Linked DNA regions of Homo sapiens: regions 1, 2, 4, 5, 6 and 7 are each linked to region 3. Evidence: promoter capture Hi-C in 16 types of primary human blood cells and fetal thymus (Javierre and others, 2016). All regions are on one chromosome and are shown on one strand. The core of a region is centred on a gene start or on the middle of the fragment in contact, and the rest is flanking DNA. Distances in the headings are between cores, read along the strand shown.

Region 1 (2,700 bases), core at 101-2,600, 840 kb before region 3:
AGATCTCGTCTCTACAAAAAAAAATTTAAAAATGAACTGGACATGGTTGTGCATGCCTGTAGTCCCAGCTAATTGGGAGGCTGACGTGGAAGGATCATGTGAACCTGGGAGGTCAAAGCTGCAGTGAGCCATGATAGTGACACTGCACTTCAGCCTGAGTGACACAGTGAGACCCTTTCTTAAAAAAAGAAAAAAAAAAAAAGAATGCCATCTGGGATTCAATATGGTCATTTTTTTTTTTCTGATTACAAAGTCTACTGAACATAATGGCGAAAGTTCACGGGTTACAGCAACCAAAAGTGGAAGTCTTCCCTTTCATGCTAAGCATTTAAGCAAAATATATTACACATCTACAGCAGTGCCAGGTAGCCTTAAGTAAAAAAGGAACATATTTTAGGCACAGTTGCAGGATAAGCTGACAGACTTGAAATTGTTCTCTGAACAAACAAGTGTAGATACTGATATGGTTTGGCTGTGTCTCCACCTAAATCTCATCTTGAATTGCAACTCCCACAATTCCCACATGTTGTGGGAGAAACCTGGTGGGAGGTGATTGAATCATGGGGGTGACTCTTTCCTGTTCTGTTCTTGTGATAGTGAGTTGGTCTTGGTCTCAGTCTCACAAGATCCGATGGTTTTAAAAACGGGAGTTTCCCTGCACAAGCCCTCTTTTCTTGTCTGCCACCATGTGAGATATGCCTTTCACCTTCTGCCATGATTGTGAGGCCTTCCAGCCACGTGGAACTGTAAGTCCAGTCAACCTCTTTCTTTTGTAAATTGCCCATTCTCCGGTATGTCTTCATCAGCAGTGTGAAAACGGACTAATACAGATACATTAATGATGATTAAGTCCTAAAAATCTATTCTACTAAAATCAAGCACAGCTAGCCTACAGATAAGGGATGCCAAAGTATAATCTTCATAAAAAGAGGTTATTCATTTGAAAGTATACATGTGTCACTGACACTGAGGATATGTTGAGGCCCAGGCAATTCATTTCCTTATACCACTGTTTGGCAGCTCCTGGAACTATACTGCAGAAATTCTGATTCTTCTTCTTCTTCTTCTTCTTCTTCTTTTTTTAATAAAGATGAGGTCTGGCTGGTCTCAAACTCCTGGGCTGAAGCAATCCACCCACCTCAGCCTCCCAAAGCGCTGGGATTACAGGTGTGAGCTACTGCACCCGGCCATCCTAACTACGCAGTCAGAATCTGTAGTTGGTTGGTTAAAGAAAAAAGTCAGCTATATGGGGCTTCATAAAATTATTATATATATCTTCAAAATTTTATTTTTAATTTAAAATATAAACAGGTTTATCTACCCATCACTCCTTTGATGTCAGGATAAGACCTTTTCTTTGCGTGTGGGCCTGCTGATGCAGGCTGCACAGAGGACATTGATTAGCACAGCAAGAAGCATTATCAATTTCAGCTTTAGTAGAATGAGGACTCAAGACACTTGTGAAACAAAATGAAGGCAAAGTCCTATATTTTGACACTTTTCTCTCCCTCCCAAACATTCACGGTTGCTTTACCCACACCTAATTCCACAGCATTTTTTTCTTTAATAACACGTCTTTTATCAGGTCTTTCCCAAGTTTTCAACTTTTTTTCATAGAGATTACTCTCTTCACACTCATAATTGTTTGATTTTGGTAATATTGAATTAAATTACATCGTTATTAAGTACAACTTGCAAAAACAAGTTTTGGAACAAATACAACTGATTTTTTTTTTTTTTTTTGAGATGGAGTCTTGCTCTGTTGCCCAGGCAGGAGTGCAGCAGCACAGTCTTGGCTTACTGCAGCCCCCGCCTCCTAGGCTCAAAGAATTCTCCTGCCTCAGCCTCCTGAGTAGCTGGGATTACAGGGGCCCACTACCATGCCCAGCTAACTTTTGTATTTTTAGTGGAGATGGGGTTTCATCATGTTGGCAGGCTGGTCTTGGACTGTCCTCAAGTGATCTGCCCACCTCAGCCTCCCAAAGTGCTGGGATAACAGGCATGAGCCACCATGCCCGGCCAAATACAACTGATTTTTGGAAAGCATACAACTCAGAGAGAGCAGTGATTAGCCTACCAAGGAGCAGACGACTTCATAGTAGGGGAAATTTGGGTTCTGAACATCCGGCATTATTTTTCACCGAGAGCAGAGACTGGCTCAAAAGTCTGAACCATATAGGTAGCTAATGAAAGCTGAGTTAGTTTAAGAAATGGAAAATCTAGGCAGGCCATGGTGGCTCATGCCTGTAATCCCAGCACGCTGGGAGGCTGAGGCAGGAGGGTGGCTTGAGTCCAGGAGTTCAAGAGCAGCCTGGTCAACATGGTGAGTCCCTGTCACTGAAAATTTTAAAAAGGAAAAAAGAAAGTCTAAATTCAGGGACTTAGCACCAAACTTTCATGAAGGTGAGCAATGCTGAAACCCTGTGGAGAGGGATGCTGACAATGAAGGCTTGGGCAATCAATCCATTCTTGGCTGGGTCTCTAGTGGGCCTGACAATGATTCTCTTCTCAAAGCCTGAGCCTCCATTTGCATGTGTTTAGTGTCATGAACCTAGTCCCAGCTAAATGTTCTAAAATATTTAAATACAACACCCTTTAAAGGAGACAAGAAAGGAACTGCTCCTAGTTTTGTTTAATAAAGTATTAAAGTCTAAAGTATCCTTAAAATGGGTCAGAAAGAGCGATGGCTCATGCCTGTAA
Region 2 (2,741 bases), core at 2-2,501, 740 kb before region 3:
ACCACAGCAATTCACAATAACTGCCTTTCACATAAGGGTTTAGAGTCTATCATAGTTCAAAAGGAGATTACAAAGTATCCCAGTTGCTTAAATGACAAGGTTTTATATGGGAAATGAAATGTTTTCAGACATTGAAAATAAACAAGAAACAGTAAGACTGTGACCCTGAAAAAAAACTCGATTAAGTTTTCCTTAGAGAAGAAAAAATACAAAGAAAACCACTGCTCCCAAAGTTACCTGCTTCCTGCCTGACTGCCCTTCTACAGAGCGGCAGGTCAAGAAATCAATGTAATTAGTTAAGCAGTAGCTGAAAACTTTGCTTCTCATCACACTGACAACAAAACTACCTAACAGGTGGAACAAATGCAACATTCCTTTTTTTAAAAGAAAATACATGAATAAGCCAGTAGTTTTTCATTAAGTTGTACCAGTATTTTATCTTCTTAAAAAAAAAAAAGGAAAAAAAGAAAAATTTTGAAATTTGAAAAAGCCTCAGGGTGCAACTGCGGAGAGGGAAGAGAGCCAGGAGCACTTTGGGGTCGCCTACAGGATCAACTCTAGGGTCCAGACACCGCAGATGAAAATGCACCCGTTTCGGGAGCCTGTAAAGCCTCGGGCGCGGGCGGCCGGGGTGGACGTGGGGTCGAGGTTTCGGGCAGACCCGTGCAGCGCCCGCAGACCGCACTTGTGCCTTTCGGTGGGAAATGACTGGTTTTCCATAGCTGGCATCTCTAGCAGCCTCAGCCTTCTCAATCCCACGCTCTGCCTGCCTCTCTCTCGGATGCAAACTCCTGCAAAACGTGTGTGGCCGTCCAAGTCGCGACGGGACTCCTCACTGACCGCCAACCACTTCATATTTTGTCCGGGGGGCGATGGGTGGGAGAGAGGCTGCCGAAATCGGCAGAAAGTGGGGGCTGCGGGGCGAAGCCGGGGTCGCAACCGTCCGTTGCCCGAGGGCGCCGCGCCCACCTCCGGGCCAAGCGCAGGGCCGGGGCGGGGGTCGCTTCCCCGGCGCAGGGACCCCACGCGCGCGCGCGAGCCCGGAGGGGAAGTGCGGGGGCCGCGTGGGACCCCCGGCCCATCTTCCCCCGCCGGCCCCAGCCCTCCCGCGTCCTGCAACCCAGGCCCACCTTTGATGCCTGCCATGGCGGTGACGTCGCTCCTGGCTCCACGACCCGAGGCGGCGGCGGCAGCAGCGGCAGCCGGGAGACCCAAGACGCGCTACGGCGGCCAGACAACACCCGGAAGTGCGCGACGCAGCACTTCCGCCGGCGACTCGGGCTCGCGCGGGGGCGCGGGGGACGCGCCGGGCTGGGCTGTGGGGTCGACCCCCTGCCTCTCTTCTCCGCGGGTGTGCAGATCGCCGCCGGCCGAGGCTTGCCGCCGCCGCCCCGACTGGGGGAATGAGCAGGCGCCAGGTCTTGAATTCCTGTCAGGGCCGGTCTGGGGGCTCCCTGCTGAAGCCCCTGTCCCTGATCCCGCAACCTCCCGCGTGCGTTGGGAAGGGGTCGCGGGTAGCGGCCGTCCTTTGGATGCACGTGTGATGGCTTTTGGCTTAATTTCACATTGTTTTGTTTGTTTTTTGAGACAGGGTCTCTTTCGCCCAGGCTGGAGTGTGATCACGGCTACTGCAGCCTCGATCTCCAGGGCTCAAGTGATTCTCTCACGTCGGCCTCGCAGTAACTGGGACCACAGACATGAGCCACCATGCCTGGCTTTTTTTTGTTTTGTTTTGTTTTGTTTTTTGTAGAGACAGGGCGGGGTGTGAGACTCTCATCTTGTTGCCCAAGCTGGTCTCCTGAGCTCAAGGATCTGCCCTCCTCGGCCTCCCAAAGCGCTGGGATTACAGCTTGATACCCTACCTTGTTTTAACCTGATTGACTCGCTCTTAGCTGAGAGAGCGGGACAGACTCCATTTTGGTTTCTTCGCTTGCAGCACCTTGTCCCCCTCCCTTAAGGACATAACTGGTGCAGACTGACACCAAGCACATCCAGGAATGTGCTTACTGATAAGATACTGAGGCAAGCTGTACCAGCAGCTCCTGGGAACGCGCTCGGTTGATGGTACCCAAAGCCCCTGCGTTTATCTCTTTGTGATAATTTAAGCCCCATGCACCTGGAACTGTTTATTTTCCTGTAACTGTTTCTATAACCATTTATCTTTTAACTCTTTGCCTGTTCTGCTTCTGTAAAAATTGCTTCAGCTAGACTACCCCTTCCCTATTTAGACCAAGGTATAAAAAGAAATCTAGCCCCTTCTTCAGGGCCGAGAGAATTTTGAGCTGTAGTCGTCTCTCGGTCGCCGGCAATAAAGGACTCCTGAATTAGTCTCAAAGTGTGGTGTTTCTCTATAACTCGCTCGGTTACGACAACAGGTGTGAGCCACTGCGCACATTATTTTACTGCGCCTTTTCCTCTCTCCCTCCATCCCTCCATCCCCAGTCCTATAATTAAGGTTAGTTGGGTGGTCTGCACTTGGCTCCTTGGTTTCCTATACAGGACTAGGGTTCTGGTGAGGACCCACCTCCAGAGATAGGAGCAGCAGGGCTCAGTAAAGGGTGGATTTAATAGAAATCCAGTCCCTTGGGTGGCTGTCTTTTTGGTAGTAACAAGGCAAGGAAAAAAAAGTGAAAGCCCAGGTTCAACACCTTTATTTACACATCCTACAATTATTTATAGAACATTTACTATGTGTTAGGCACAGGGTTAGACGCTGAGATGTGCAAAACCAGGTACTGTTT
Region 3 (2,750 bases), core at 9-2,508:
GCGTGCACAAACCCCCAGCCAAAAGCCGCCTCTGGGAAATTAAATGCAAAAGAGAAATGGGGATGGGGAGGGCTGCTACGTGACCAGGAAAAAGGGATGCCCAGAAACATGAATCGGACCCAGAGCTGCTGAAGTCCTTTCAAAAGGTCATTCTTTGCGGGTACATTTTCCAGGGTCCAGCTCCGCAACAAATGTGGACCCTGTCATTTCCTGAAAGGATAATTCACAACTATGCAAGATAGGGTGAAGACGTTTCCCAAACCCGAAAACCTTGTTTTTCCCCCGACCAGGGTTAAATAAACATCTTTTAGGAAGCGTGGACAGGAGCGCAGCCTGCTCTCCTCCCTCGGAACACCATTCCGGCAATTAATGCCTCCCTTTGGGTAGTAAAGCAACAAACCCCACACCTCACTCCGATCCTGGGCTTCGGGCGGGAGGACTTTCTCTTTCATCTTCCAAGCAGGGGGTTGCCCACGTTCTTGGGGAAGCTATAAAACTGATTTAATGGCTTTAGATGAAAATCGATCACGCTAATGCATACGCTAACGTCTCAGGAATCGCATATTCAGAAAGGACTGGCCGGGCCGAAAGCGCACGGGGAGTCTGGGGCTAGGAGGTGTCAGGCCCCGCTGGGTGGGCAGCAGCGCTCCGGTCCCCTCTCCACTTGGGTAACCGGGAAAAACCTACGGGGCTGTCACGCGGGGAAGCGCGAAGGTGCCAAGGGATGAAAGCTCAAACCCGAGCCCTGGCCTCCTCAGCCGGCTATTTCCTTTGGCGCCGCCCGCCTAGCGGCGGGGTGCAGCGGCGGCACAGGTGCCGGTGTCGGGCTGGAGGCGCGGCGCAGGCTGGGCCCGCGGGTAGACGGCGAAAGGCGCCGCGCGCTCCATTCACAAAGTCCGGGCGCTGCCCGCCGCTGGCGGCGGGTCGGAGGCCGCCTCCCTCTTCCTCTCGGCCTCGGTTTTATGAATGGGCCTGATGGCGAGCACCCGGCGCCCTGTTTACTCCGCTCTTTGTGACGTCGAGTTCCCGTGACCGGGAGCCAGCGGCCGCGCTCCATTCAAGCTCCGGGGAGGGGGTGGGAGGAGGGGCCCGGAGGGGGCGGGGAGTCAGCGCGGGGGGCGGGGGACAGCGCGGGGGGCGGGGGACGGCGCGGGGCCCGGAATGGAACGGGGCGGGGCCTGGCGGGGTAGTACCTAGCGCCCCCTCCCCCGGGAGCGCGGAGGAGCATTAATAAACCTCTAAGCCGAGGAGAAAACTCTGGCTGGGGCAGTGCGCTGAGCGCCGGAGGAGCGTAGGCAGGGCAGCGCTGGCGCCAGTGGCGACAGGAGCCGCGCGACCGGCAAAAATACACGGGAGGCCGTCGCCGAAAAGAGTCCGCGGTCCTCTCTCGTAAACACACTCTCCTCCACCGGCGCCTCCCCCTCCGCTCTGCGCGCCGCCCGGCTGGGCGCCCGAGGCCGCTCCGACTGCTATGTGACCGCGAGGCTGCGGGAGGAAGGGGACAGGGAAGAAGAGGCTCTCCCGCGGGAGCCCTTGAGGACCAAGTTTGCGGCCACTTCTGCAGGCGTCCCTTCTTAGCTCTCGCCCGCCCCTTTCTGCAGCCTAGGCGGCCCGGGTTCTCTTCTCTTCCTCGCGCGCCCAGCCGCCTCGGTTCCCGGCGACCATGGTGACGATGGAGGAGCTGCGGGAGATGGACTGCAGTGTGCTCAAAAGGCTGATGAACCGGGACGAGAATGGCGGCGGCGCGGGCGGCAGCGGCAGCCACGGCACCCTGGGGCTGCCGAGCGGCGGCAAGTGCCTGCTGCTGGACTGCAGACCGTTCCTGGCGCACAGCGCGGGCTACATCCTAGGTTCGGTCAACGTGCGCTGTAACACCATCGTGCGGCGGCGGGCTAAGGGCTCCGTGAGCCTGGAGCAGATCCTGCCCGCCGAGGAGGAGGTACGCGCCCGCTTGCGCTCCGGCCTCTACTCGGCGGTCATCGTCTACGACGAGCGCAGCCCGCGCGCCGAGAGCCTCCGCGAGGACAGCACCGTGTCGCTGGTGGTGCAGGCGCTGCGCCGCAACGCCGAGCGCACCGACATCTGCCTGCTCAAAGGTAAACGAGGGCTCCGGGCGCTAGCTGGAGTCGGGGAGATGGAGGGGGTCTTGGCGGCCTGCGCCTTATTGGCACGGGAAGGAGTCCCCGGCGTGATTCGTGGTTGCGGGGATCCCCGCGCGCCCCTTTGTGTGTGTTGGTGTGTAGGGGTTTGCAAGGTTTCTGTGCAAGTGCGAGGTTCAAGTCCTCAGGGAAAGTGCGGACGGGTTTCTCCGGTCACCTGCAATTCCGCACCGTCCTAGCGAGGCCCCGTTTATTGACATTAACGGTCCTAGCCTCGAGGATGAAGCGACTCCTCTGCGCGGTCCATCTTGAGTCCCGGGAACAGTTTCCAAGTACCACGGGGCGCGTGGGGACAAGATAGGCCTGTTGGTTTGGCGTGCTGGGGCCCTACACTGAGCCGGACCGGGAGAATCCCAGAGGTGGAGAAAAGGTGAAGAGGGGTGGGCGCCGAGGTACAATTGGCCTTGCCAGTTTCACTGAAAACAAGACCCTGGCAAATGCAGAAAGGGAGATTGGGTTGCACACACTGTGTAGAGCGATCTGTATCTGCGTTCCCGCTGCCCAACTCCAAGCTCAGCTTGGAAGGTGGCCAATCCCCGTCCCGGGCTAGATCCAGGCTCTGGGAGCGGGAGGCTGAAGGACTGGGTATCT
Region 4 (2,706 bases), core at 121-2,620, 700 kb before region 3:
CCTTCCTTCTTGCTGAAGGGGATTAGCCTTCCTTGTCTAGAGACCATGTAACGGCCTCACCTGAAGCAGATGCCTTGTAAGATAGCATTTTTTCTTAAAACTGAGTCCTGCCACATCTCTGCCTCCAGGCCAATAACTAGAGTCAGATCTCAACCTTAACAGGGAAAGACAGTCCCTGCTTTGGGAGGAAATAAGCCACACAGCAAAAGAATGATAACCTCTTGGAATTATAGCACTTGCCTTGGGAGGAAATAGGTCACATACTAAAAAAATCATGGTACCATACAGCTAATATGTACCAGCGAGAGTAGGGATAAACCATGTGGAAATTCATCTGGAAGTTGGGCTGTGGGAGGGGTGAAATATGGTGGAAAGAGAAGTCCTTTATGTTCACCTGTGAATTGGGATTCAATGTTCTGTCAAAGACATGAGCTACTGGTTCTAATAATTTTCTGGGATGGTTTCTTGATGGATGATGATGGTTTCCTGATTGGATGTGATGATGCCTACCGTAAGTGAGGTAGAGATGCCAGACTTTCTATGGTATAGTATTGAGCACAGTATCTGAAGACTCAAGGAAGTGGGATGTTAGAATTTACTTATGAGACTGAATAATCCAACATTTGACTCTACTCTGAGGGTTCAGAGCATCTCCCTTTACCAAGGTAGTAAGGAAGGTACTGGTGAGAGAGTTATTAGCATTTTTAAGGGCTCAATGATAGTTGTCCTCTGTAGGCAAAGGTTAATAGTGGGAAATGCTGTCATGAAAATGGACTTCCCAAGATTAACAGAGATAGTGGGTTTCCGAAGTGGCAAATTGCATCTCTTCATTGTCAGAGCCAACCAAGGTGGATGGAATTCCATACAGGACAGCAAGTCAAGAGTAGCCTGATTTACAAATGGATCTGCATGATATGCTGATACCACCTGGAAGGACAGTGAAGGGAAGTGCCCTGAGGGGGTGGAATTTTGAGCTATGCATCTGAAATAAGAGATGGCAAGACATATGTATCTACACTTTTCAAAATAGACAGTGGTTTCTGGTTTGAATGGGTGACCAGGGGCTTGGAAAAATGAGACTGAAAAATTGACGATAAAGCTGGGCAAGCTGGCTCATGCCTGTAATCCCAGCACTTTGGGAGGCCGAGGTGGGCGAATCATCTGAGGTCAGGCATTAGAGACTAGCCTGGCCAACATGGTAAAACCCCATCTCTACTAAAAATACAAAAATTAGGCTGGGCGCAGTGGCTCACGCCTGTAATCCCAGCACTTTGGGAGGCTGAGGCAGGCAAATCACAAAGTCAGGAGATCGAGACCGTCCTGGCTAACACAGTGAAACCCTGTCTCTATTAAAAATACAAAAAATTAGCCAGGCGTGGTGGCACACACCTGTAGTCCCAGCTACTCGAGAGGCTGAGGCAGAAGAATCACTTGAACCCAGGAGGCAGAGGTTGCAGTGAGATGAGATCGTGCCACTGCACTCCAGCCTGGGTGACAGAACGAGACTCTGTCTCCAAAAAAAAAAAAAAAAAGAAAGAAAAATTGATAAGGATATCTGGGGGAAATGTAGATGTATGGTCCTCTCTTAACAAAGATGAGATTTTTTTTTTTTGTCCAATATACATGCTTACAACTACCTGAGTAGTAGAATATCACAGAAATTCTGGCATCTCCACCTTGCTTACTATAGGCATCATCACATCCAAGCAGGAAGCCATCATCCCTCAGGAAACCATCCACTCAGAGTATTAGGATCAGTAAGTAGTTCATGTCCCCGACAGAACGTTGCATCTTAAGTCACTTCATAAGATGACATTTTCTGTGGCTATTATTCAGCCTCTTTTTTTCAGCAAGCCCTACTCCTGTTTCATTGGCTCATAAACAAAGTGGCTAAGGTGGTAGGGATGAAAGTTATCCATCGATTCAGCAAAAGGGTCTTCCATTCACCAAAACCGATCAGGTTACAACCGCTGCTGAGTGCCCTATCTCCCAACGGCAGAGGCCAACACTGAACCCTGAATACGGTTCAATTCCCTGGGGAAATCAGCCCACCATCTGGTGGCATGTTGATTACATGAGACCACTTCTATCATGAAAGGGGCAATGATTTGTTGTCACTGAAGTAGACATTTACTCTGGGTTTGGATTGGCCCTTCCCACTCGAAAGGCTGTTGTTGAAACCATGATATGTAGATTTACAGAATGCCTTATTGTGTATCACAATGTTTCACATTGTTTCTAAGTAAATCATTTTCTAGTGGATGAAGGGCAGGATGGGAATAATGCCCACATAATTTATAGGAGTTCCTGTCTTCCCTGGATCCAGAAATAGTAAATCTTCATGATTTTGCTAGCTCTGTGATGCCTTCGGGAAGATGTCTTTTCATATTTTGCTCAGTTTTGTTAGTTTCCGTGTGTGATAGGATTGGTTCAAATCATCTTGCCCTCACAAACATAAAAGTGGAATTCCCTTACTGTAGATATTTGAAGACAGCTCTATTTTTTATTCAAGTTAAAAATCCAAAACACTCTCAATCATTTCTTACTTTACCTAGCTTTTGGATCCTCCACCATCTGGTCATCTACCTAGGTTTGATCATGTTTTTTTTTGTTGTTGTTGTTTTTTGTTTTTTAAATCCCCAGCACAATCTTTCCTTATTAAAGGAGAAAAGACACATTTCTTCCTTACATTAAAATATTCAAAAT
Region 5 (2,700 bases), core at 39-2,538, 800 kb before region 3:
GTGCGACTACTGTTATTTATAAACAAAGACATTTATTGCTCACAGTCCTAGAGGCTGGGGAGTCCAAGATCAAAGCGCTGGACATTCTGTGTCTGATGAGAGCCCTCATCACCTAATCACCTCCCAAATGTCCCACCTCTTAATTGCCAAGTAGTCAATAAAATATCAGATGTGAGGCTCGGCAGAGAGGACAGAACCTTGAAGGTATTATTTCAACATATGAATTCTGGAGGGACAAAAACATTCAGACCATAGCACCATCTAATCAAAAATAGGCTACCCTTCCTATTCTAATTATTTTCTCTGTGGGGTAAGGATTGCACTCATCACCAGCTATACTTACTTATCTTACCATTTCCTCCAAAGACTTAAGTTCCATGAAGTTAGAGCCATGTGAGTTTTGTTCCCACTCTTTACTCAGCACCAACCACAGTGCCTGGTGCATGGTTGATATTCCTCTAAACTTGTTGAATAAGTATATGAATGAATTTAGAGTGTTTTGTCACTGCCAACCATGTAAACACCTATCCATTTTCAAGCAATGTGTATTTATATTAATTTGAAAGACTTCTATGGCATACTTATAAAGGATCATTTTATCAGTATTAGGTACAGTGTCTAGGGCCTATAGGCTTTTTGGGGATCAACGAACTGTTTGAAACCTGAAAATAAAATGTACTGATTCCAGAATGTAAACCGTACAGGTAGGAATTAATTAATGCTAAGGCCAGGCACAGTGGCTCACGCCTGTAACCCCAGTTCTTTGGGAAGCTGAGGCAGGTGGATTGTTTGAGTTAGGAGTTCGAGACTAGCCTGGGCAACATGGCAAAACTCTGTCTCTACAAAAAATACAAAAATTAGCGAGGCATGGTGGCACGTGCCTGTAGCCCCAGCTACTTGGGGCCTGAGGTGGGAGGATCACTTGAGTCCGGGAGGTCAAAGTTGCAATGAGCCAAGATCATGCCAGTGCACTCCAGCCTGGGCAACAGAGCAAGAGCCTGTCTCGATAATAAAATAAATAAATGCACACATACTTTTTTTTTTTTTTTGAGATGGAGTTTCACTCTTGTTGCCCAGGCTGGAGTGCAATGGCGTGATCTCGGCTCACTGCAACCTCCACCTCCTGGATTCAGGTGATTCTCCTGCCTCAGCCTTCTGAGTAGCTGGAATTATAGGCACCTGCCACCATGCCTGGCCTTTTTTTTTTTTTTTTTTTTTTTTTTTTTTGGATTTTTATTAGAGACAGAGTTTCACCATGTTGGCCAGGCTGGTCTTGAACTCTTGACCTCAGGTGATCCACCTGCCTCTGCCTCCCAAAGTGCTGGGATTACAGGCATGAGTCACTGTGTCCAAACCCACACGTACATACTTAATTCAATGTCTACAAAGCAACTTTTTTCTTAACTAATCAACTGCAATTCAACTCTTCTATACCTAGAAATTATATTTGATGTGGGATTTGGTTTCATTCAATATGTTTAATATGATGTTATCTTATTTAGTTCCTTAGGGAGCCCTCTTCTTCCCTGTTGGGAATAGGCCCCCAAAATCTGGTCATAAACTGGCCCCAAAACTGGCCATAAACAAAATATCTGCAACACTGTGACATGTTCGTGATGGCCATGACGCCCACGCTGGAAGATTGTGGGTTTACCAGAATGAGGGCAAGGAACACCTGGCCCACCCAGAGCAGAAAACCCCTTAAAGGTGTTCTTAAACCACAAACAATAGCATGAGCGATCTGTGCCTTAAGGACATGCTCCTGCTGCAGATAACTAGCCAAACCCATTCCTTTATTTCAGCCCATCCCTTTATTTCCCGTAAGGAATATCTTTAGTTAATCTATAGAAACAATGCTTATCACTGGCTTGCTGTCAGTAAATATGTGGATAAATCTCTGTTCGAGGCTCTCAGCTCTGAAGGCTGTGAGACCCCTGATTTCCCACTCCGCACTCTATATTTCTATGTGTCTGTCTTTAATTCCTCTAGTGCCGCTGGGTTAGGGTCTCCAGGACCGAGCTGGTCTTGGCAAGTGGCGCCCATACGTGGGGGCTCAAACCCAGGTCGAAGAGTCATCAGAGCAATGGTTGGAGAATGTGGAGCTAAGCTGGAGGACACCCAAGTACTCTTAAAGCAATCCCCGTGGTGGGTAAGAAGGGGAGCTCAGAAGCATCAGGGTAACAATGGGACAAGTGTGGGCTCTGGTTCGTTCCACTTTGGAACCTTTTCACACTGATGATGAGGAAGGAGAGTATAACGAGATAACAGAAGAGGTTACAGAGGAGGTTTATTTGCCAGCTAAAGCTAAAGTGGCAAAGGAGGGAGAGGTTCATCCCTACCCTTCTGCACCCCCTCATTATTATTTTGAAGAAAAAGAGTGGCCTCACCCTCCAGATCTTTCTTTTCTGGAGGACACTGAGTGAAAAGTAGTTGCCCCAGTGACTGTTCGAGCAGCGCCTCCAGCGACCACTCTCAGTTCTATTCAGGCAGGAATTCAGCAAGCTAGACGAGAGGGTGATATAGAGGCTTGGCAGTTCCCTGTTAGAATACACCCACCTGATCAACAGGGAACTATTACAGCTACATTTGAGCCTTTTCCTTTTAAATTACTCAAAGAATTTTAAACAAGCTATTAATCAGTATGGACCAGGTTCTCCTTTTGTAATGGGACTGTTAAAGAATGTTGCTGTTTCCAGTCGG
Region 6 (2,700 bases), core at 106-2,605, 820 kb before region 3:
CAAGACAAGGATACCCCTGGGACCTGTGTGTTTCTTTAAAACTTATGAAAACAAGTGACAGTTTCATTTTTCCCTTTCAAAAATGACTAAGTAATACAAATTTCTTATATAAAGAACTCAAACAAATAAGCACACTTTTTAAAAATTTTTAAAAATTTTTTTCACAGAAGATACCAGAAGCACACATTTTTAAAAATTAAAATAGGCCAGGTGTGGTAGCTCACATCTGTAATCCCAGCACTTTGGGAGACCGAGGCAGGTGGATCACTTGAGCACAGGAGTTCGAGACCGGGCAACATGGCGAAACCCCATCTCTACTAAAACACAAAAATTAGCCGGGCATTATGGCGGGCATCTGTAATCCCAGCTATTGGGAGGCTGAGGCAGGAGGGTCACCTGAACCCGGGAGGCAGAGGTTGCAGTGAGCCGAGACTGCGCCACTGCACTCCAGCCTGGGTGACAAAGTGAGACTCTGTCTCAAAAAAAAAAAAATTAAAACAACCCCAAGTCCCATAAGATGTCTTGCACAATATTTAAAAAATAATATGTGAGCTATTTTAAGCAGGTATTTTATTTTATTATTGTTATTACTGTCTTTATCATTATTAATAATTATTAAACAAGTAACTGGAAAATGCCTGGTTAGAAATCTGAGGGCTGTGTCCAGAGAGGGAGAGAAAGCACCGCCGCATTTAGGTGAGACCAGTGATTTAGACACCACCTCCACCTGCTGGCAGCATTGCCAAACTACAGGTCCCAGTGTTAAGAGGCTGAAATAAAAGTTTGAGAAATGATCAGCTTTAAATTGTGAGGTGACAGCAAATGTCACGGGCAATAACTCATCAAATAGCTTCTCTCAACTTCTTGCGGGTCTTTTTTGGGCACAGACTGAAGTAGTTAGCATAAGCGTACTTCAGGATACATAACCGCTAGATTTTGGTTTGGTGAACTTTTTTTTTTTTTTTGGATACAGAGTCTCGCTCTGTCGTCCTGGCTGGAGTGCAGTGGCACCATCTCAGTTCACTGCAACCTCCGCCTCCCAGGTTCAAGCAATTCTCCTGCCTCAGCCTCCCGAGTAGCTGGGACTACAGGAGCCCACCACCACGCCCAGCTAATTTTTTGTATTTTAGGAGAGACGGGGTTTCACCGTGTTGCCCAGGCTGGTCTCAAACTCTTGAGCTCAGGAAATCCGCTCGACTCGGCCTCCCAAAGTGCTAGGATTAAAGGCGTGAGCCACCGCCTCTGGCCTGGTGAACTTCTTAAAGGAAGGCTGTGATTTCCGTGAATGATGCGGATAATTCTGCTTTGTCTGCGTGGTCTATTGATGGAGGTTGGGCAGCACAGAGCCCAGAGCCCAGCAACTCAAGCACCATAAGAAACAGCACACTGAAACGTGGCCACGGTTCACTTCATGCTTTTCTGATGCCATGAGCACTTTTATTACACCTAGATCAGGTCTGAATTCAACATAAAGTTTAAGGGTCTTGAGGTTAAAGTGCTTTAAAAATAAAAATCTGTCACCACGGAAAACATTGAAAGCCTGCTGTGAACCCTGGCGCTCCTTCTGGCGGGGTAGTTTGTGTATTTTCTTACTAAATGTGCTGAAGCCCTATTTGGCTTATCTGCTTGTTTGGAAAAATGTGTCTAGAGTTGGAACTGCCTTACTGGCTGATGAATTATTTTTCTAAATGGTTGGCTGGGCTTGGTGCCACATAGCCAGAAAGATATTCCTTGCATCCAATTTCCATTTCCCTGGTAAAGGACACTTTTCCTGTCTATCTTTGCCACAGAAAGCAATCTTTGTGTACATTTCCATTTGTCAATAAATAATTCAAAAGGCCTTAAGCTCTGTTTTTTTGACAACTAAACAATTTTCTTGAACTGTAAGCTGAAGTACCTGTAAGAGTGCTTTATAGGTGATAATTTCTCAAGTCAAAGCCACTGTTCTGCCTTACTGAAAAAGACTGCCGCAATGAAAGGGAGGCTTTTGGTCCGTATTAAAACTCTCCTAGAGAGACTAAGTAAGTGGGACAAAGTGCTTCCAGCACAAAACATTTCCACTGAGCCGAGTTCCGCCTTCACATACTGATGTCCTGACCAAGTTCTGTCCCGGCCTCTCGCCCTGTAATGGACCACGGGACGGTGCTTCAAGGTACCTTTCAGAAATGTTTTCAGCTCTCAAAATAAAGATTTACAGGAAATAATTCATGGGCCATGAATTAAGGCAGACTAACTAAAAATAGGCTTGATGCTATGAAACCTTATTTACCCAAATTATAATTAACAAGAGGGCTGTTACTTTTCCCAAGCTCTGTCTCTGAACAGCCTTGAATAAGGGGGTCAGGCTCCAGCAGAGCTTCAAGTCATAGGGTTTCTGGTTAAGGACCATACTTCCAAGCATCCAGCTAGTTTCTCTGAAAAAACAAATACCTGCTTTTCTAGGAAAACAGATCGGGTTTAAAGTTCCATTAGCCTGAAACTTAGCAAAGGAAAACATTACTTTCTTCCTGAAATATTTCAGAATGGAATAATTTGTAAAAGTATACATGACTAGAAGATGGAAAATTACACAAAACATCCTGAAAAAAATCTATGAATTAAACAACAGTTTATTGCTACTTAACTCAGATAAACTAAGTAAAAACAACAATAAAAGCCCTAAAATGAAAAATAAAGCAGGGTGGGGAGAGTTGTAATCAG
Region 7 (2,700 bases), core at 76-2,575, 720 kb before region 3:
ATGCATAGAAATTCATTTTTTTTTTTTTTTTGAGATGGAGTTTCATTCTTGTTGCCTAGGCTGGAGTGCAATGGTGTGATCTTGGCTCACTGCAACCTCCTCCTCCCAGGTTCAAGCGATTCTCCTGCCTCACCCTCCCAAGTAGCTGGGATTACAGGCATGTGCCACCACTCCCGGCTAATTTTGTATATTTAGTAGAGATGGGGTTTCGCCGTGTTGGCTAGGCTGGTCTCGAACTCCTGAGCTCAGGTGATCCACGTGCCTCGGCCTCCCAAAGTGCTGGGATTACAGGTGTGAGCCACCACACCCAACCTAAAAATTTCATTTTTGCACATGAATGCCAGACATAATTTTATTGTTTTGACTCCTCCTTTCAAAGTCTCTTGTCAGTATGTTTTAAATTTTTTAGTTTGTGAAATAGTTTAAATAGTTTTGATTTTTAAAATTATGAAATACCTAAAGTATTTAAACATACAGAAGTGTACAATGAACCTACACATAGTCATCACCCAGTTTTATTGAATCTTTATATTTTGCCATATTTGCTACAAATCCCCCACTCCCAGTAATAAAACATTAGGAATAGAGCTAAAATCTCTTTTCTTTCTCTCTCCCTAGACTAGATACTTATTTGAATTTGGTGTTAAATCCTTCCCATACATGTTTTCATGTTGTTATTATATACATATATAGACATTAACAGTATGTAGTACTGTTTTGCCTTTTTTAAAGGTTTATGTAAAGCTGTCATACAAAACATTCTGCAACTTGTATTTTGTTTAAAATGTTTTTGCCATCTATCTAGTTTGATACATGAATTCTAGTTCACTCATTTTAACTGCTATGTAATATTCCACTGTAATAGGTCAGAATGTGTTAATTTCTTCACCTGTTGATGGACATTTAAAGCATTAAATGTGCTTCAGGAACATGCTTATATTCTTGCCATTTTAATTAACCACTATTATTATTACACAGTAGTACAATGTTTCAGGTTAATGAACTTTTTGTTCTTTTGATTTAGCAAAAATGATGTACAACTTGTGCTGTAGAAGCATCTGGCCTGAAATGCAGGGAGATCTTAAAAGTGTGACCTGAATTTTGTTCAGAAGGCCTGAATGTTGTTGGGATAGTTTTGAGAAATAGATTCATCCTCTCTTAGCCATCCTCAGAAGGCAAGAAAGGCATTTCCTATGACGAGAGTTTCGTTAGGATGAACCTTTCTTTCTCTGACACGATACTTACTTTGTGTTCCTCTGTTTTCTTGCTGTTTCAGACAGAATGTTGCTGCGGGATGTAAAAGCTCTTACCCTCCACTATGACCGCTATACCACCTCCCGCAGGCTGGATCCCATCCCACAGTTGAAATGTGTTGGAGGCACAGCTGGTTGTGATTCTTATACCCCAAAAGTCATACAGTGTCAGAACAAAGGCTGGGATGGGTATGATGTACAGGTAATATCCACTACAGTAATGGCAGTCTAAATGGGGTTTTTATTCAGTAAATTGTTTATTGGGACATTATTCAGTCTTTTGAGGGTGCACCTACGGAAATCTCAGATCAGCCTAAAATATGTAAGTAAATCAATCACTCTTCCTGTGGAAGAAATGGCCTCCAAAAGAAATGAACTGATTTTAAAGCCTGAAAATACTCATTTTAGTTTTTGTATCGTGACCTCCTTCTAAGATATTTGTAAATTTTCACAACTTTTTATATACTTGAGGGTGAGGGATAGGGGATATCTTATGGTTGTCATTTTCCTGTCGTTCCTCAAAGAATACCAACCTACCCTTAAGACAAAGTTAAGATAATTAGGAATTATAGATCGTAAATAGTAGGGGTTCATATATCTCTATTGTGCTTCTAGCACTTGATTTTAAAATTGTCTTAGAACTGAGGGTGGTTACTTTTGAAAGGAAGCATTTCGGCAGGTTTCATTGATTGCCTTTGGGACGCTGGTGTTTTGTATACGAGCAGAGCATCTCCTTGAAGTTCCAAAACTGAATATGCTTTAGAGATAGATTTTATTAAATGAATTCAGTTTAAATCACTAGTTACATATTTCTACTTTGTATTCTGACTGCTTTCAAAATTGATTTAAGACGACTGGTCACAAGGCAAGAAACTTATGTTGACGATTTCCCCTCTCCATCAGAATGATATTCTTGTTTGATACAACCTTTATGCGTGGTCTTTGCAATTCAGAGAGGAAGTTGATGTGTACTGGGTGATACTTACTTCACAATATTTTCCCCCAGTACTGCTAAGTTGAATCATAGAATTCTCTGGGTTATAGCAGAAGTCTCACTCCACTTTACTTATGACTTTTAGAGTCTTGATGGGAAAAAAAGGCAGTAATGGTGATGTCATTCATTAAGCATGTATTAATTGCAATATACAAAAATGAATAAGGTAGAATGAAGAAACTGTCTTACTAGTAGAAGAGGTAAGACAGGCACTCAGATTACATGTAGGTCCCAACACAACATTATAAAGTCACGTCTGGTTGGAGCCATTGGGACTTAAAGGATGAGACATTTGTGCTGTGTTAGGAAGGAATGATAACATTTTTAGAGAGGAAAGGCTAGAGAAGGGAATAGCATGAGCAAAGGAGTGTTGAGCATATCATACATTGGCTTATGTTTAGTAGCAGGAGAGAGGCCATTTAGTAGCAGGACAGAAACTCCTTCTATTCCAAG

What was found. The method cuts DNA at HindIII sites, captures the fragments that hold promoters and counts their contacts. A CHiCAGO score of 5 or more calls a contact.
Region 1: a fragment that was not itself captured here is called in contact with the fragment with the promoter of DUSP4 in region 3 in 1 of 17 cell types (total CD4 T cells); the score reaches 5.3 in total CD4 T cells.
Region 2: a contact is called between the fragment with the promoter of LEPROTL1 here and the fragment with the promoter of DUSP4 in region 3, in 1 of 17 cell types (non-activated CD4 T cells). The highest score is 5.1, in non-activated CD4 T cells.
Region 4: a fragment that was not itself captured here is called in contact with the fragment with the promoter of DUSP4 in region 3 in 17 of 17 cell types (M2 macrophages, total CD4 T cells, naive CD4 T cells and 14 more); the score reaches 22.4 in M2 macrophages.
Region 5: a contact is called between a fragment that was not itself captured here and the fragment with the promoter of DUSP4 in region 3, in 3 of 17 cell types (M2 macrophages, M0 macrophages and total B cells). The highest score is 6.1, in M2 macrophages.
Region 6: a fragment that was not itself captured here is called in contact with the fragment with the promoter of DUSP4 in region 3 in 2 of 17 cell types (naive CD4 T cells and total CD4 T cells); the score reaches 7.4 in naive CD4 T cells.
Region 7: a contact is called between a fragment that was not itself captured here and the fragment with the promoter of DUSP4 in region 3, in 6 of 17 cell types (M2 macrophages, endothelial precursors, fetal thymus and 3 more). The highest score is 8.3, in M2 macrophages.

Annotation. Positions count from the first base shown.
Region 1 is chr8:30,188,976-30,191,675 of GRCh38, reverse strand. No RefSeq gene overlaps it. Among named protein-coding and RNA genes, the nearest start is that of DCTN6-DT, 34 kb to the right of the region's middle. The HindIII fragment of the contact is 3,441 bases long and covers 1-2,700 here.
Region 2 is chr8:30,093,918-30,096,658 of GRCh38, reverse strand. It overlaps LEPROTL1 (leptin receptor overlapping transcript like 1), which reads right to left and starts at 1,251. Exons shown (of 4, transcript NM_015344.3): 1 at 1,131-1,251. The coding sequence starts at 1,146. RefSeq lists a silencer at 944-1,403. The HindIII fragment of the contact is 3,733 bases long and covers 1-2,741 here.
Region 3 is chr8:29,349,192-29,351,941 of GRCh38, reverse strand. It overlaps DUSP4 (dual specificity phosphatase 4), which reads left to right and starts at 1,258. Exons shown (of 4, transcript NM_001394.7): 1 at 1,258-2,096. The coding sequence starts at 1,664. LOC124901924 (a long non-coding RNA gene) reads right to left here and starts at 968. Exons shown (of 2, transcript XR_007060876.1): 1 at 408-968. RefSeq lists enhancers at 341-450, 491-560, 1,259-1,758, 2,081-2,230, 1,759-2,260 and silencers at 751-890, 1,081-1,400. The HindIII fragment of the contact is 21,736 bases long and covers 1-2,750 here.
Region 4 is chr8:30,053,540-30,056,245 of GRCh38, reverse strand. No RefSeq gene overlaps it. Among named protein-coding and RNA genes, the nearest start is that of SARAF, 28 kb to the left of the region's middle. The HindIII fragment of the contact is 8,354 bases long and covers 1-2,706 here.
Region 5 is chr8:30,150,720-30,153,419 of GRCh38, reverse strand. No RefSeq gene overlaps it. Among named protein-coding and RNA genes, the nearest start is that of DCTN6, 4.3 kb to the left of the region's middle. The HindIII fragment of the contact is 3,005 bases long and covers 1-2,700 here.
Region 6 is chr8:30,168,439-30,171,138 of GRCh38, reverse strand. The region is part of intron 2 of DCTN6 (dynactin subunit 6); the gene reads right to left. Among named protein-coding and RNA genes, the nearest start is that of DCTN6-DT, 13 kb to the right of the region's middle. The HindIII fragment of the contact is 6,372 bases long and covers 1-2,700 here.
Region 7 is chr8:30,072,632-30,075,331 of GRCh38, reverse strand. SARAF (store-operated calcium entry associated regulatory factor) reads left to right here. Exons shown (of 6, transcript NM_016127.6): 2 at 1,277-1,455. Among named protein-coding and RNA genes, the nearest start is that of SARAF, 9.1 kb to the left of the region's middle. The HindIII fragment of the contact is 3,292 bases long and covers 1-2,700 here.